Linked DNA regions of Homo sapiens: all the other regions are linked to region 1. The links are contacts of gene promoters, found by promoter capture Hi-C in blood cells and fetal thymus (Javierre and others, 2016). All regions are on one chromosome and are shown on one strand. Each heading gives the region's core, a stretch centred on a gene start or on the middle of the fragment in contact. The rest is flanking DNA. Distances are from core to core; before and after follow the strand shown. Region 1 holds the start of EIF4A2 (eukaryotic translation initiation factor 4A2). Region 2 overlaps RPL39L (ribosomal protein L39 like). Region 3 has its middle 25 kb from the start of RPL39L. Region 4 has its middle 43 kb from the start of RPL39L. Region 5 overlaps ST6GAL1 (ST6 beta-galactoside alpha-2,6-sialyltransferase 1).

Region 1 (2,600 bases), core at 44-2,543:
TAATCAAGTGATCAGCAATGAGTATTCTCTTCATTTCAGGTCAGTCCCGAAAGATGATTGCCATCATTTCACTTTAAGGAATACAAACAGGTGCTAGTCCCCCAGAGGTTACTTTCCCTTTTATGGTTCATGTCTATGTAGAACAATTTCCTAAAAATGCCAGTTTCTTTTACCTTTAATACAGGGAATAATAGCTCTCTGCTGAATAGCGGAAGGCTTCTCAAAACCGTAAGCATAGATGCCACGAAGGAGAGACTCCTTTAAATTCATATCATCAAAGTTATCAACAATCTCATTCCAGTTGCTCTGTAAGTTAGAAAAAATAATGCACGCATAAATGAGATGAACACACTCACCTTTCCAAAGCTTCAAGATCCACAACCGTTTCTTACCTCGATGACACCATCGGGGTCCATTCCCTCTGGGCCGCCATGTTCTCTGCTGACAAGAATACTGCAGTCAGACACCCCTTCCAGGCCACCTCAACTGCACCTTAAGCGCATAGCCCTTTGCAACCCGTCTCAGCACGTTAGCCTCCCCTGCACAAGCTAAAGCAGCAGCCTCAGGGCGAATATCCACACTGTGCGCCTTCCCTAAAGGTTGGGGCCTGCGGATGCCCGGAAAGGCAGCCCCCCAGGCCCGAGCGCATGGCGATCCCGTTTCAACTGCGGAGCGTCTCGCGAGAGCTCGGAGCGCCGAACTCCGCCCCCAACAATGCGCAAGCCGGGTGATTGACGCGGGCGGAGCGGCCTGGCGAGGGCGATGCCAACGGTTCACCGGCACCGGTCCTGTCCCGTCGCCTCCGCGCCGTGGCCGAGTGGAGACCGCTGCCTCCAACCCTTCCCCAAGTAAAGCCTAGGACCCTCCCCCAACTCGTGTGGATGACCGAAAATAAAGCTTCGGGTCCTGGTTACAGTGTACCGAACTCGGACTGCGCCACGGCTTTTTACTCCATGTTTCCCGTGCTCTACACTGGGAAGGAAAGCAGCCGAAGTTTCGTAATGTCTTAGAGAGGAAAAACGCCCTTTAGCCACTGCTTTCGCACCACCGTCCTATCTCCCCACAATCCGGGCCCTACCCATCATGGAAGCTTCTGGAAGGGCACAGGAGTGCTGTACCCTAAGAAAACGTCCATTAATTTAGAGTTTTTGCCTCCGTGCCATCCACTATCATCTCCCCTGGCGCCCTATGACCTTCACTACAGACCGCGACCGCCAACAGACTGCATACCTGTTATAATCCGCGGAGCCACCAGACATGATCCGAAAAACCACTCAGCGCCCGACTGAAAAGACAGCGGCGCCCAACCACCCGTTTTTTATAGGCTCGTGGCCGGAACCCGTTTCTTGCGGAGGAATTTTCTCGCCGTGCTTCGGTCAGCTACAAAATTGTGATCCTGGGGTCGTTACCTCGGATAAAATCCTAAGCAAGTTGGTAGAAAAACCCAAATGTGGTAATTTCTCGATATTACAGGGTCGCTGGAAATCCTAGGGCCCGGGGTTGGGTTGGGACTCTTTACCTCGCGGCGGAAGAATATAGCTGCGGAGTTAGTTAAACCTCGCTTTCCCCGCCCGCCCTGCTCCTACGGGGTTTCCGCGTCCCTGACGCAGAGGCGGGCCGGGGGAGCCGCGCCGGAGCCGGAGGCGGAAACCGGAGATGCTGTTCGTCGGGCGGCCGGGGCTTCCCGCGGGTGACAGGTCCCGGCTCGCGGCTCGCTGCCGGCACTCAGGTGCGGGAGGGGAACTCGGTTATTCCGCTTGCTCCCACCGCTGTTTAATTCCACAATGAAGACCTGCCTGGCATTTAGCCCGACCGTTAACATCCATTCAGATCTTGGAAACGTAAAATTCCTGCTAGGGAAAATGTCGGCCACCCAGCGAGTCCCGGGAAGTCCGGTTTACCGGTACATTTTGCAGCGCGAGAAGGAAAAATGGAGTGTCATTTGCAGATGTCTCTGGAGTGGCCAATTCTATTCTCATATCATTTCCGGTCTCTCGCTTTCTTTTTAAGAGTGTTACTGATTTTAACCTAACAGGTGTGAGGAATGCCTGAAAAAAATCATAAACTTTTGCAAATGGATAGAAACTAAGCAGTAATTTTCCTTGGAACGCACGAATTTAAATGGACGCTTTGGCAGATACAGCTCTGTGCCGCTTTGGGACTACATCGGTTTTGATTCCGTCTATATTGGTCATTTTTTAAAGGCTGTAGACTTTGCCGATATATAGTGAAATGTTGATTTATTGAAATTCAGAGCAATAATATCCTTGCTGCGTAAACTGCACGGGTCTTTAAGCTCCAGACGTTTTCAATTAGCCCCATCTCAGGTCTCTCGACAAAAACAAAAAACAATATATGTAGTCATTTAACTTTAAAATACAACCCTACCCATGGTGCAAAATATCATCGAGACTATCAGGGTAACATTTTCTCATATTTCAGAAGGCCAACTTAAAGAATCATTACTGGGAAAGCTGACTCAATTTTCTATATTATAGAAGATATTCGGTTCTAAATACTACTTTTTTAATACAAAAATTATTTATTTATTTGAAAATTCTTATCGTGCCAGGAACTAGGACAAAGATTAAGAATACCAA
Region 2 (2,600 bases), core at 53-2,552, 350 kb before region 1:
TCCTTTTTAATTTAAAATATTTTATCCACCTTTATATTAATTACATGCTTAAATGGTATTTTAAATAAATCAGATTAAATAAAATATATTCAAATTAATTTTACCTGTTCCTATTTATTTTTTAACATGACTCAGAAAATTTTAAATTGTAACTATATGTGGGGCTCACATTATATTTCTTTGGGAAAACACTATTACAAAAGTTTTGAGATATTGGAAACTTCTTATAATGTTCAGAAAAACTGCCTTCCCCACCACCCACCCCACCCAAAAAACTACTCACATTGACTCTTATCTCCCAGAAAATACCACTACCTACTCTTATCCTATGCGATCCATATCAAACAACCTTACTAACCCAGCTTAACTCAAAGGCCTTGGCAGTTAAAGAACCACAGCCTAATTACAGATGGTCTAGGGCTGCAGAGAAAGGCTCAAACTTCCCTCAGCTGTTGCATTAGAACCAACTCAGTTGCTGGCAGACCTATCTCTACTGCTTTGGCTGTTTGATTGTCCAGTTTTGCATAAGTGAACTGTAAAACTATAGAGAAAGGAAGAAAGATGTCATCAGGGAGGGTGGTCACCTCACCAACCTTCACTCCTAATTATATTGTTACAAACTCTGGCACTGCAGCATCCTTGGGCTGACTTCTTTTTGTCAGTCACACCACTTTAAAAAGTAATTAGCTTTAGTGAAGAAATTGCCGATGCTCTAGTCTGAAGTGTAGATAGGGACAGAAAATTACCTGTAAATTTAAGCTTTCACTTGAGCAGTCTCCATTAGTTATGGAATATAAAATGGGCAGACTCCAATATCTCGATCTTTAGTGTTTTGAATGGCTCTCAAAAGCAGTGTGATGAGGGAAGATGTTAGCTTTACATCAGTGTGTACTGGATGCAGTCCTAATCCAGTCCTCCTAGAGCCTCTAGTTCCATGGAAAGAGTTCTTAGTCTGTTAGTTCACATGAGTGCCAATTGTTCAAAAGAACCTGGCATCTCTCTTGCTCTGTCTCTCGCCATGCGGCATGCCTGCTCCTCCTACACCTTCTACCAAGAGTTAAAGCATCAGATGCCTAGCAGATGCTGGTGCCATGCTTGTACCACCTGCAAAACCATAAGCCAAATAAAACTCGTTATAAGTTGCCCAGCCTCAGGTATTCCTTTATAGCAAGGCAAAATGGATCAACACACTTGGTTTATGTCTTCCTTTGGAAAGATAAGGCTGTTTGTGAGCTACCTCACCCACGAGTGTGTTTTGCCTATTCACTGCTTACCCGTCTGTATTAGTCTTTCATGCTGCTGATAAAGACATACCCGAGACTGGGCAATTTACAAAAGAAGGAGGTTTATTGCGCTTACGGTACCACATGGCTGGGGAGGCCTCACAATTATGGCAGAAAGCAAGGAGGAGCAAGTCACATCTTACATGGATGACAGCAGGCAAACAGAGAGCTTGTGCAGGGAGACTTCCATTTTTAAAGCCATCAGAGCTCATGAGACTTATTCACTATCACAAGAACAGCACGGGAAAGACCCGCCCTCATGATTCAATCACCTCCCACTGGGTTCCTCCCACGACACGTGGGAGTTGTGGAAGTTACAATTCAAGATGAGATTTGGGTGGGGACACAGCCAAACGATATTACCGTCCCATCATGAGGCTCAGTCTCAGCTATGCTTCTGAACTGCTTTGCCTCAGGAGCCACAGTATTTGACAAAGCCTTAGAAGCTGGATCTCCACCCCAGTAGACACCTGCAGGTGACTGAAATGAGATTGCCCCATCAGGGTGGGAGGATCTACCATCACACAGCCATGTAATTTCTTAAGAATTTAAGAAAGCTTTAAGCGAAAAAGCCTTGGCAAGTTGAGTTGGGAAAGAATGTCTACCACTGGCTCAAATTACTGCCTTTCTGAGGCTTCCCTTTCACCCAACATGCAAAGGTCACTCTTACGTGCAACAGCACCTTTCAACTGATCAGGTCAGCACTGTGAGATAGAATTGAGGTGTGAACACCACAGAATGCAAAATATTTGGGAATCCCTGGAAGCATAACAGAGGTGGGAACTGGGAGTTGAAGCTCAAGCATTCCTCCTGGCACTGAGAAAGGCTTGGTCTTGTCCTGATCTCTGGCTTTTGGTAGTGAAGCCATTTGGGCCTGTAGTTTTGTTACAAGATTTTTAACTACACAATTCAACATTTTTAATAGACATAGAACTACTTAGGTTATGCACTTACATGAGCTTTGGTGGTACCCATCTCATAAGGAATCGGTCCATTTCCTTACAAGACTTCGATGACTAAGTTGACTTTATGGGCATACAATAATTTGTGATATTATTCTATCCATTTAATGTCCTGAGACCTGTAGCATTGTCCCCTTTTTCATTGCAGATGTTGGTAATTTGTGTCTTCTTTTTTTTTTTTTTTTTTTATCAGTCAGGCTAAAGTAGTTTGGGCACTACTGACATTTTGGGCTGGATAATTCTTTGTCGTATGAGGCTCACCTGTACGTTATAGGATGTTCAGCAGCATCCCTGGCCTCCACCCTCTAGATCTAGCAGCACTCCTCCAGTGGTGACAACCAAAAATATCTCCAGA
Region 3 (2,600 bases), core at 43-2,542, 330 kb before region 1:
AGAAGACAGCATAAAAGAAATATTCTTAAGTTTGGGTGAGGCAGAGGTGTCTTAAATATGACAACAAAAACACAATTCATAAAATTAAAAACTTGATAAGTTGGACTTTATTAAATTTAAAATCATTTCTCTTTAAGACATTAAGAGAATGAAAAGTAACATCAGAAGCAGAATATTTGCTCTCTCTAGATATCTCTGTATACTACATATATCAAATAAGAGCCTTATATCCAGATTATAAAAAGAACTATCAAAGTTCAATAATAAGGAAACAACAATTTATAAAACAGGCAAAGAATTTGAACAGACGCTTCATCATAGATGATATGTAGTTGGCAAATAAGCACATTAAAAGAGGTTCATAGTGATATGCAATTAACATCATTTTTAGGATATACAAAATAAAGCTACAGTAAAATACCACTATTGACCTATAAGAATGAATAAACAAAAAAAAAAGCAAAAGAATACAGTTGACAATAGCAAGTGCTGTCAAGGATGCAAAGCAACTGAAATTCTCATACATTGCTGGTGGGAATAAAAAATAGGGAATAGTTTGGGCATTTTTAAAGTTAAACCTGTATTTACTCCTGGAAAGCTTTCTTCTTCTATTACAGTTCTGTTTTTGTTTTTTTAGGGACAGGGTCTCACCCTGTCACCCAGTTCAACAGTTCAATTATAGTTTTAAATGATAGTTACATTGTTTGCTATTTCTTCTTCATGTACTCCAGTTATACCAGTGTTGCTTTGGACTGTCTTCCCTGTCAATCACTTTCTTCCTGACCCATTTCACTTCTTTATTTCATTTCATTTTCTTGCTTGTTTGCCTTTGTTCAGTGCCCATATTAAATTTCCATCTGAGTACATTCTCCTTTGGGTGCTATAGCGAGGTGATGATGACCACGCCCACCCCCACACCCCAAAAATGTCTACTCAGAACCTGGGAATATGATCTTATTTGGAAAAAGGGTCTTTGCAGGTGTAATTAAGTATCTCAAGATAAAATCATCCTAGGTTTTCTGGTTGAGCCCTAATTCCAATTCCAAGTATCCTTAGAATAGAAGGAGAGAAGACACATAGAAACGATGGTAATGTGGGAAGGAAGGTGGAGATTAGAGTGACGCATCTATAAACCAAAGAACAACAAGGATTGCTGGCAGCCCCCAGAAGCTATGAAGGAGAGATAGAGCAGACCCTTCCCTCAGAGCCTCGGGAAGAAACAAGCCCTGCCAGCCCCTTGATTTGAGACCTCTGGCCTCCAGAACTGTGGGAAAATAAATTCCTATTGTTTCAAGCTCTCAGTTTATAGTAATCTGTTAAGATAGCCCTAGGAAACCAATATAAGTACCCTCTTAAAATTTATGTTTCAATCCTAAGATTATTTTTCTTTTTCTTTTATTTTCTTTCTGAGTTCAATCAACACACTGTTCATTACTTCCCATTTTTTTCTAAATCCATTTATATTTTAATTTCTGATTAAAGATAGTTTTTCAGGCCAGGCGCAGTGGCTCATGCCTGTAATCCCAGCACTCTGGGAGGCCAAGACAGGTGGATCACTTGAGGTTAGGAGTTTGAGACCAGTCTGGACAACATGGTGAAACCCCGTCTCTACTAAAAATACAAAAATTCCCTGGGTGTGATGGCGCCCACCTGTAATCCCAGCTACTTGGGAGGCTAAGGCAGGAGAATCTCTTGAACCTGGGAGGTTCAAAAAATAAATATAGTTCTAAAATTTATGTTTGAACCTGGGAGGTTCAAATATATACATATATACACACATATATACATATATATACATATATACACATATATGTATATATATGTATAGCTTTTCACATGTCTATACTTGTTTGAGGTTATTTGAGTCTGGAGTGTAGCATTGCAGTTTTCCTCTGCTTCATGGTCATTTTTGTATTTACCTCCCTTGGAGTGGTGGAAAATTTTTATCACTTGAGGTGTGTTGAGTCTCTTTCTTTAAGAAGCTTTGCATAGATTTATTCCATTTTTTGTAATTCTTTTTGTGGATGTGGGCTAATTTACAAGATTCTTCATTTAATGGTGCCCTCTTCTGTCAATGTGGTGAAGTACAGCTTCTTTAATGATTGTGTTTTGGTACTTGGGGGAGGAATAGTGTGTCTTCCAGGAGATATCCAAGCCTGTTATGCACACCAAAAAATATAAAGCTCTATCTTAAAGGCTTTACCTTTCAAATCCAGTATAGTTGAAATTTATTGTCTCTGAAGGAAGAACCTCCAAGAGCACACAACACGGTGTCCTTGCATTACTGTCAGGTGATAACTTCACATTTCCTTATATGGCATGTTTCCTCTGAGCCATCCATTCCCACCTTCACCCTGCTGCCTCCTCCCATGTGCCCTCTCTCTCTAAAAACCACGTTCTGGTATGTCCCACAAAAGCAAGGAGATGTAAACTAAGAAAGAAGCAGTGTGAGGGAAAAAGGAACAAGATTCACAGAGGAGCAAAGGAAATTCCTAAGATGATGATGAAATGAAGTTCTAGGAGAACACTTGTTTAATGTAGGGTTAGAGATCACCAGTTCAGGAGAGACAGCGCCCCCAGAGACTCCCCTCCAAAATGAA
Region 4 (2,600 bases), core at 75-2,574, 310 kb before region 1:
TTCTGATAAGAAGAATGTATATTCTCCAGTAGTTGAGTAGAATGTTCTGTAAATATCTGTTAAGTCCATTTGTTCTAGCATATAGTTGAAGTCCACTGCTTCTTTGTTAACTTTCTGTCTCAGTGATCTTTCTAGTGCTGTCAGTGGAGTATGGAAATTTCCCACTATTACTGTGTTGCTGTCTATCTCATTTCTTTGATTTAGTAGTGATTGTTTCATAAATCTTGGAACTCTGGTGTTAGGTGCATATAAATTTATGGTTGTAATATCTTCTTGTTGGACTGATCCTTTTATCATTATATAATGTTATTCTTTGTATTTTGTTTGCTTGTGTTTGGCTGTTGTTGCTTTAAAATCTGTTTTGTCTGATATAACAATAGCTACTCTGGCTTACTTTTGGTTTCCATTTGTGTGGAATATCTTTTTCCACTCCTTTACCCTGAGTTTACATGAATTTTTATGTGTTAGGTGAGTCTCTTGAAGACAGAAGATATCTAGTTTATGTTTTTTTTTAATCCATTCTGCCATTCTGTACCTTTTAAGTGGAGCATTTAGGCCATTTACATTCATACATTCATTACATTTTATAGGCCTTATAGTTTTATGCTTTCAGGAAGTTCTATTTTGGTGCATATCAAGCTTTTCTTTCACAATTTAAAACACCTTTTAGCATTTCTTGTAGTGCTGGTTTGGTAGTGGCAAATAACCCCAGCATTTGTTTGTCTGAAAAAGACTTTATTTTGCTCTAATTTATGAAGCTTAGTTTTGCTGGATACGAAACTCTTGACTGACAATTATTGTGTTTAAGGGGTCTAAAGATAGGACACCCAATCTCTTCTAGCTTGTAAGGTTTCTGCTGAGAAGTCTGTTATTAGCCTGATATGTTTTCCTTTATAGGTTACCTGATGCTTTTGTCTCACAGCTCTTAGAATTCTTTCCTTCATATTAACTTTAGATAGCCTGATCACTTTTTGCCTTGGTGATGATCTTTTTGCAATTAATTTCTCAGATGTTCTAGGAGCTTCCTGTACTTGGATATCTAAATCTCTAGCGAGGCCAGGAAACTTTTTCTCAATTATTACTTCAAATACGTTTTCCAAACTTTTATCCTTCTCTGTTCCCTCAGGAACAACAACTCTTCTTAGGTTTGGCCATTTTACGTAGTCCCATATTTCTTGGAGACTTTGTTCTTTTGATTCTTTATCTTTATCTGATTGGGCTAATTCAAAAGCCTTGTCTTCAAGCTCTGAAATTCTTTCTTCTATTGTTCTAGTTCATTGTTGAAACTTTCCACTGTATTTTTATTTCCCTAAGTGTGTCTTTCATTTCCAGATATTCTGATTAGTTTTTCCTTATATCTATCTCTCTGGAAAATTTCTCATCCACATCCTGTATTGATTTTTAAATTTCTTTATGTTGGTTTTCACCTTTCTCCAGTATCTCCTTGAGCAGCTTAATAATAAACCTTCTGAATTCCTTATCTGGTATTTCAAAGATTTCATCTTGCTTTGGATCCAGAGATGGGGAGCTAGTATGATCTTTTCAGGGCATTATAGAACCCCATTTTGTCATATTACCAGAATCTCTTTTCTGGTTCCTTCTCATTTGGGTAGACTATTTCTTGTAATTGTTCTTGAATTTATTTTTGGTTTCATTTTTTTTAATTTCTTTTTTTTTCTCTTAAGGATGTGACTTCAATATTTATAGTTTATTACAGCTGAATTTGGTTCTTGGTGCTTTTATGAGTGAAGATTCTGTAAGAATTCCTTGCTTATAGAGAGTCTTTGTGTGATGGCTGTCTCAGATGCTACTTGTAGTATGTATGTACTTGGTATAGGCAAGTTCATTGTCTCCTGTGGGATTGGAATGGTAGGGGTCTTTTGAAGCTTATCTCATTTCCCTGTGTTGTGCACTCATATTTATTTATTTTTTCTCCATTATTTTATTTACTGAGTTAATGGCTCAAGCTTCAGGACAGTAGGGGTGGAATTGTATCCCTGGGTAGGAACCGGTTGTAGCTAAAGCAAGTGGGTAAATGCAATACCCAATGGTGGGCAGAGATCCCAGCCTTGATTAAGGTTGCTTGGGGAGCTCCCAAATAGATGCACTGAGGTCTTATCAGAGTGAAGGTTGGGAGCTATCTCAGCTCCCCTGCCAGGCCAGCAGAAAAGCTATCCACCTCCCAGCCTCACACCTGTCCCAGTGTTCCAGCTATTCAGATTATACAGGCACTTCTTTTTGTCTGTAGGAATATTGGTGTTTCAAGTAGAGAGAAATTGTGAGTCTGCTTCTTGTGCAAGCCCAAACCTGGGGAATGCTCCTTCTGTGGGGATGCAGTTGCCCTGAAGTGTTCCAGGAAGGCTGTCTGTAGGTGAATCCACACAGAGTTCCCGTGAGAGAAGCCCCAGCTGTGTCTGCAGTGGTGGACAAGTGGGGAAAGAGGACCCTTTCTCTAAGACCTTTCATGAGCACCAAGCCTGTCTGACTGTTGGATAGAGACACAGATGTCCCCTGCTGAGTCCAGTACTGCAATTGTGTCTCTGCTGAAAGAAACTTTCCCACAGGAATGATCTGGGACTCAAGGCCTGTCACCCAGATTA
Region 5 (2,600 bases), core at 101-2,600, 260 kb before region 1:
AGTCTCTTTATTTCTGAGTAAACACCTACTTTGTTTTCTCAGAATTTATTGTGTAACTGAATGGAAACTGGAAGCACTTTGAACTCAAATAATGTCTGTATCTTTTGGAAAACATTACATTCTTTCCCCAATCACTGGGTTTATTTACAATAATAAATCAAAGCAATCACCTCCGGGGTTTTGCTAACCCACTAGGGGTCTGAGGTCCCTTCCCATGGATCCCGCTCCTAAGGATATCAGGAAAAGGTAGTAGGAGTACTGGACTGGGTGTTCACAAAACCTGGGTTCTTATCCCCATTCTTGGTGACCTTGGGCAGGTCACTTAATATTTCTGCCCCTGAGTTTTTCAGAATAATTATCTCTGCCCTATGTGATTTGCAGAGTGTTGGGAGGGCAAAACAAGAGCATGGTATTCATTGGATTTGAACTAGATAAGCAAAAAGGCACAGAAGGTATTCTGAACAGAGACAGGAGAGCAGCAGCTCAGCCTGGGGGCCATGTGGAGGTGATACGGGTAGTGAAGACAGCAGTGTGAAGCCACAGCCATGACTCAGCAGCCCTGAGCTCCAGGCTCTTCCCTGGGAATTCTCCATGAACTGACATCCAGCTCATTCCTGGAATCCATTGGCAGTACCAACCAAAGCAGTGCTTCCACCATCCCAGACCTCAGGAACCAGTGACTCTGGGAACGATGGGCTCCTATCTTGGGCTGCTGAAGTTGTGGAAATGATTAAATGTACACAGTGGAAGAAGAATTCAGATAGAAGATCATGAAGTGAAGGGTGGAAGCTTGTTGTATTACCAGAAACTAAGGAATTCAATTTCCGCAGACACCCAACACAGGTAATCACATGACCATATGACAACTGAAGAAGAACTAGAGAAAAGAAGGAAAGTAGCATTTAAGGAGGGCCTACTACGTGGTAGTCACTTTCCTTGCAATATCTCATTGAACCTTTACTACAACACTATGATAGAGATATTGACAATCCTATTTTAGGAAATGGAAAAAACTGAGACTTAGCAAGGTTATAGGGTTTCTCCAATGTCAACAGCAAGTCAGTTCTAGAACCAGAATTCCAGCCCAGGTCTGTCTGACTCTAAAAGTTCATCATCTTTCCACCCAAGGACATGCATCTGTGATAAGGGACAGTGAGAAGTCAGTGTGATCAAGTCGGACTCAAGGTCACTAGAGAGGCAACTTCGTCTGTCAGACAGTCGCAGACAAGCCACCTTCACCATCAGTGCTGCACCTGCCATCCCTGCTGTGCACTGAGTGGTAACACTCAGGTACTTTCCGTATTGGTAAGGTTTTACAGACCTATTATACTCCCGTGAGATAAGCACAGCAGATTTTATGAGCTCCATTTATAGCTGAGTATAGTGAGGTTTGGAAATACAAATAATTTTCAAAGTTGCATGAGTGATTTGGAAATAGTGGACTTAGAACCTGACTTTCACATGTCTGAATGAAACAAGATGGCAGGAAGGGCCTGATTCACTGTCACAGGAGTGGAGGCTCAGGCAGCAGCTGCCCAGTACCTACTCTCCAAGGTGTGGTTTCCCAGGAAAGAAGAGTTCCTCCAAACAGCTGGGTCTAGCGACAGTCTTGCAACCATCAGACAGCCTCAGCCTTCACAGCCTGTGCTCTGTCATGGCCTCAGGGCACTCATCTGAAATCTCACATAAGGGCTCATGTGGTCCCTTGACACCACCCTTGGTTGAGGCTCCAAGTCCACCAGGTGGCTGGAGTTTCTGGTCACAGGCACTTATAACTGCAAGACCCTTTCTCATCTCTCAAATTGTCTGAAGAAGGCAGAGGCTGAAGAAACTTTCTCTAAATGGCGCAACCGAGGGAAAAGAGTAGCAAACTTTTCTCTACAAATGTTTTGGAAAAACACACTAAGCTTTGAATTTTCCAATTACACCAGACTGTGTTAAGCCTCCAGGTGTCTGCACTGCTGCACTCTTTCTCCTTGTCCATGTGCCTGCCAGCTCTGACAGCATCACCTTTCTGCTTCTGAAGGTCAGTGGAGGCCACCTCCCCTTCCGCACTATCCCTGCTCCCCTTTGCTGCCAGCCAGTGCTTTGTAATGCTTGCTTTTCATGCCTGACTTTGCTGCTCAAGGAAAACTCCTCCTGGTATCCTTTCTGAAACCCTAGTACCCAGCACAGTGCCTGGACCAGAGCGGATACTCAATGAAAGATTATTGAACTGATGCAATTGTATCAGAGAATCTTTACAATCATCACGAGGCTTCTAGAGGAAGAACACAGCGACTTGCATCATCACCTTCAAAGAACTGGCCAACACTGAACCGGCAGAAATCAATGCTCAAAGCAAGGAAATCCTGTCCCGACCCACCCGTCATGACATACTCAGTACCAGTTGCATTCGTGGCAGGTAGTAGGTACTCAGAATGGTTGACTGAAATACAGAATAACTTAAATCTTATATAGTTAATAGAAATGGACAAGCCATTTCTCTACACCCCCCAATGAAACCCACATTGAATCAGCAGTTAAAGAGGACTAAAAAATACATACAAAAAGAAAACAGCAAAGCTGGAGCCAGATACTGAGATCCTGAGATTCCCTGC

The links. Contacts are between HindIII fragments. The CHiCAGO score rates a contact against its expected background, and 5 or more counts as called.
Region 2: a contact is called between a fragment that was not itself captured here and the fragment with the promoter of EIF4A2 in region 1, in 3 of 17 cell types (naive CD8 T cells, activated CD4 T cells and non-activated CD4 T cells). The highest score is 6.6, in naive CD8 T cells.
Region 3: a contact is called between a fragment that was not itself captured here and the fragment with the promoter of EIF4A2 in region 1, in 1 of 17 cell types (total B cells). The highest score is 5.2, in total B cells.
Region 4: a fragment that was not itself captured here is called in contact with the fragment with the promoter of EIF4A2 in region 1 in 1 of 17 cell types (total CD4 T cells); the score reaches 5.1 in total CD4 T cells.
Region 5: a fragment that was not itself captured here is called in contact with the fragment with the promoter of EIF4A2 in region 1 in 2 of 17 cell types (activated CD4 T cells and total CD4 T cells); the score reaches 5.4 in activated CD4 T cells.

The regions. Positions count from the first base shown.
Region 1 is chr3:186,782,270-186,784,869 of GRCh38, reverse strand. It overlaps EIF4A2 (eukaryotic translation initiation factor 4A2), which reads right to left and starts at 1,293. Exons shown (of 11, transcript NM_001967.4): 1 at 1,231-1,293; 2 at 393-438; 3 at 174-306. The coding sequence starts at 1,259. SNORD2 (small nucleolar RNA, C/D box 2) reads right to left here and starts at 74; the gene lies at 5-74. RefSeq lists an enhancer at 388-617. The HindIII fragment of the contact is 20,029 bases long and covers 1,093-2,600 here.
Region 2 is chr3:187,134,317-187,136,916 of GRCh38, reverse strand. All of the region lies in intron 1 of RPL39L (ribosomal protein L39 like), which reads left to right. Among named protein-coding and RNA genes, the nearest start is that of RPL39L, 3.9 kb to the left of the region's middle. The HindIII fragment of the contact is 1,081 bases long and covers 762-1,842 here.
Region 3 is chr3:187,112,865-187,115,464 of GRCh38, reverse strand. No RefSeq gene overlaps it. Among named protein-coding and RNA genes, the nearest start is that of RPL39L, 25 kb to the left of the region's middle. The HindIII fragment of the contact is 1,384 bases long and covers 601-1,984 here.
Region 4 is chr3:187,094,976-187,097,575 of GRCh38, reverse strand. No RefSeq gene overlaps it. Among named protein-coding and RNA genes, the nearest start is that of RPL39L, 43 kb to the left of the region's middle. The HindIII fragment of the contact is 1,128 bases long and covers 761-1,888 here.
Region 5 is chr3:187,038,948-187,041,547 of GRCh38, reverse strand. The region is part of intron 3 of ST6GAL1 (ST6 beta-galactoside alpha-2,6-sialyltransferase 1); the gene reads right to left. Among named protein-coding and RNA genes, the nearest start is that of RPL39L, 99 kb to the left of the region's middle. The HindIII fragment of the contact is 1,118 bases long and covers 792-1,909 here.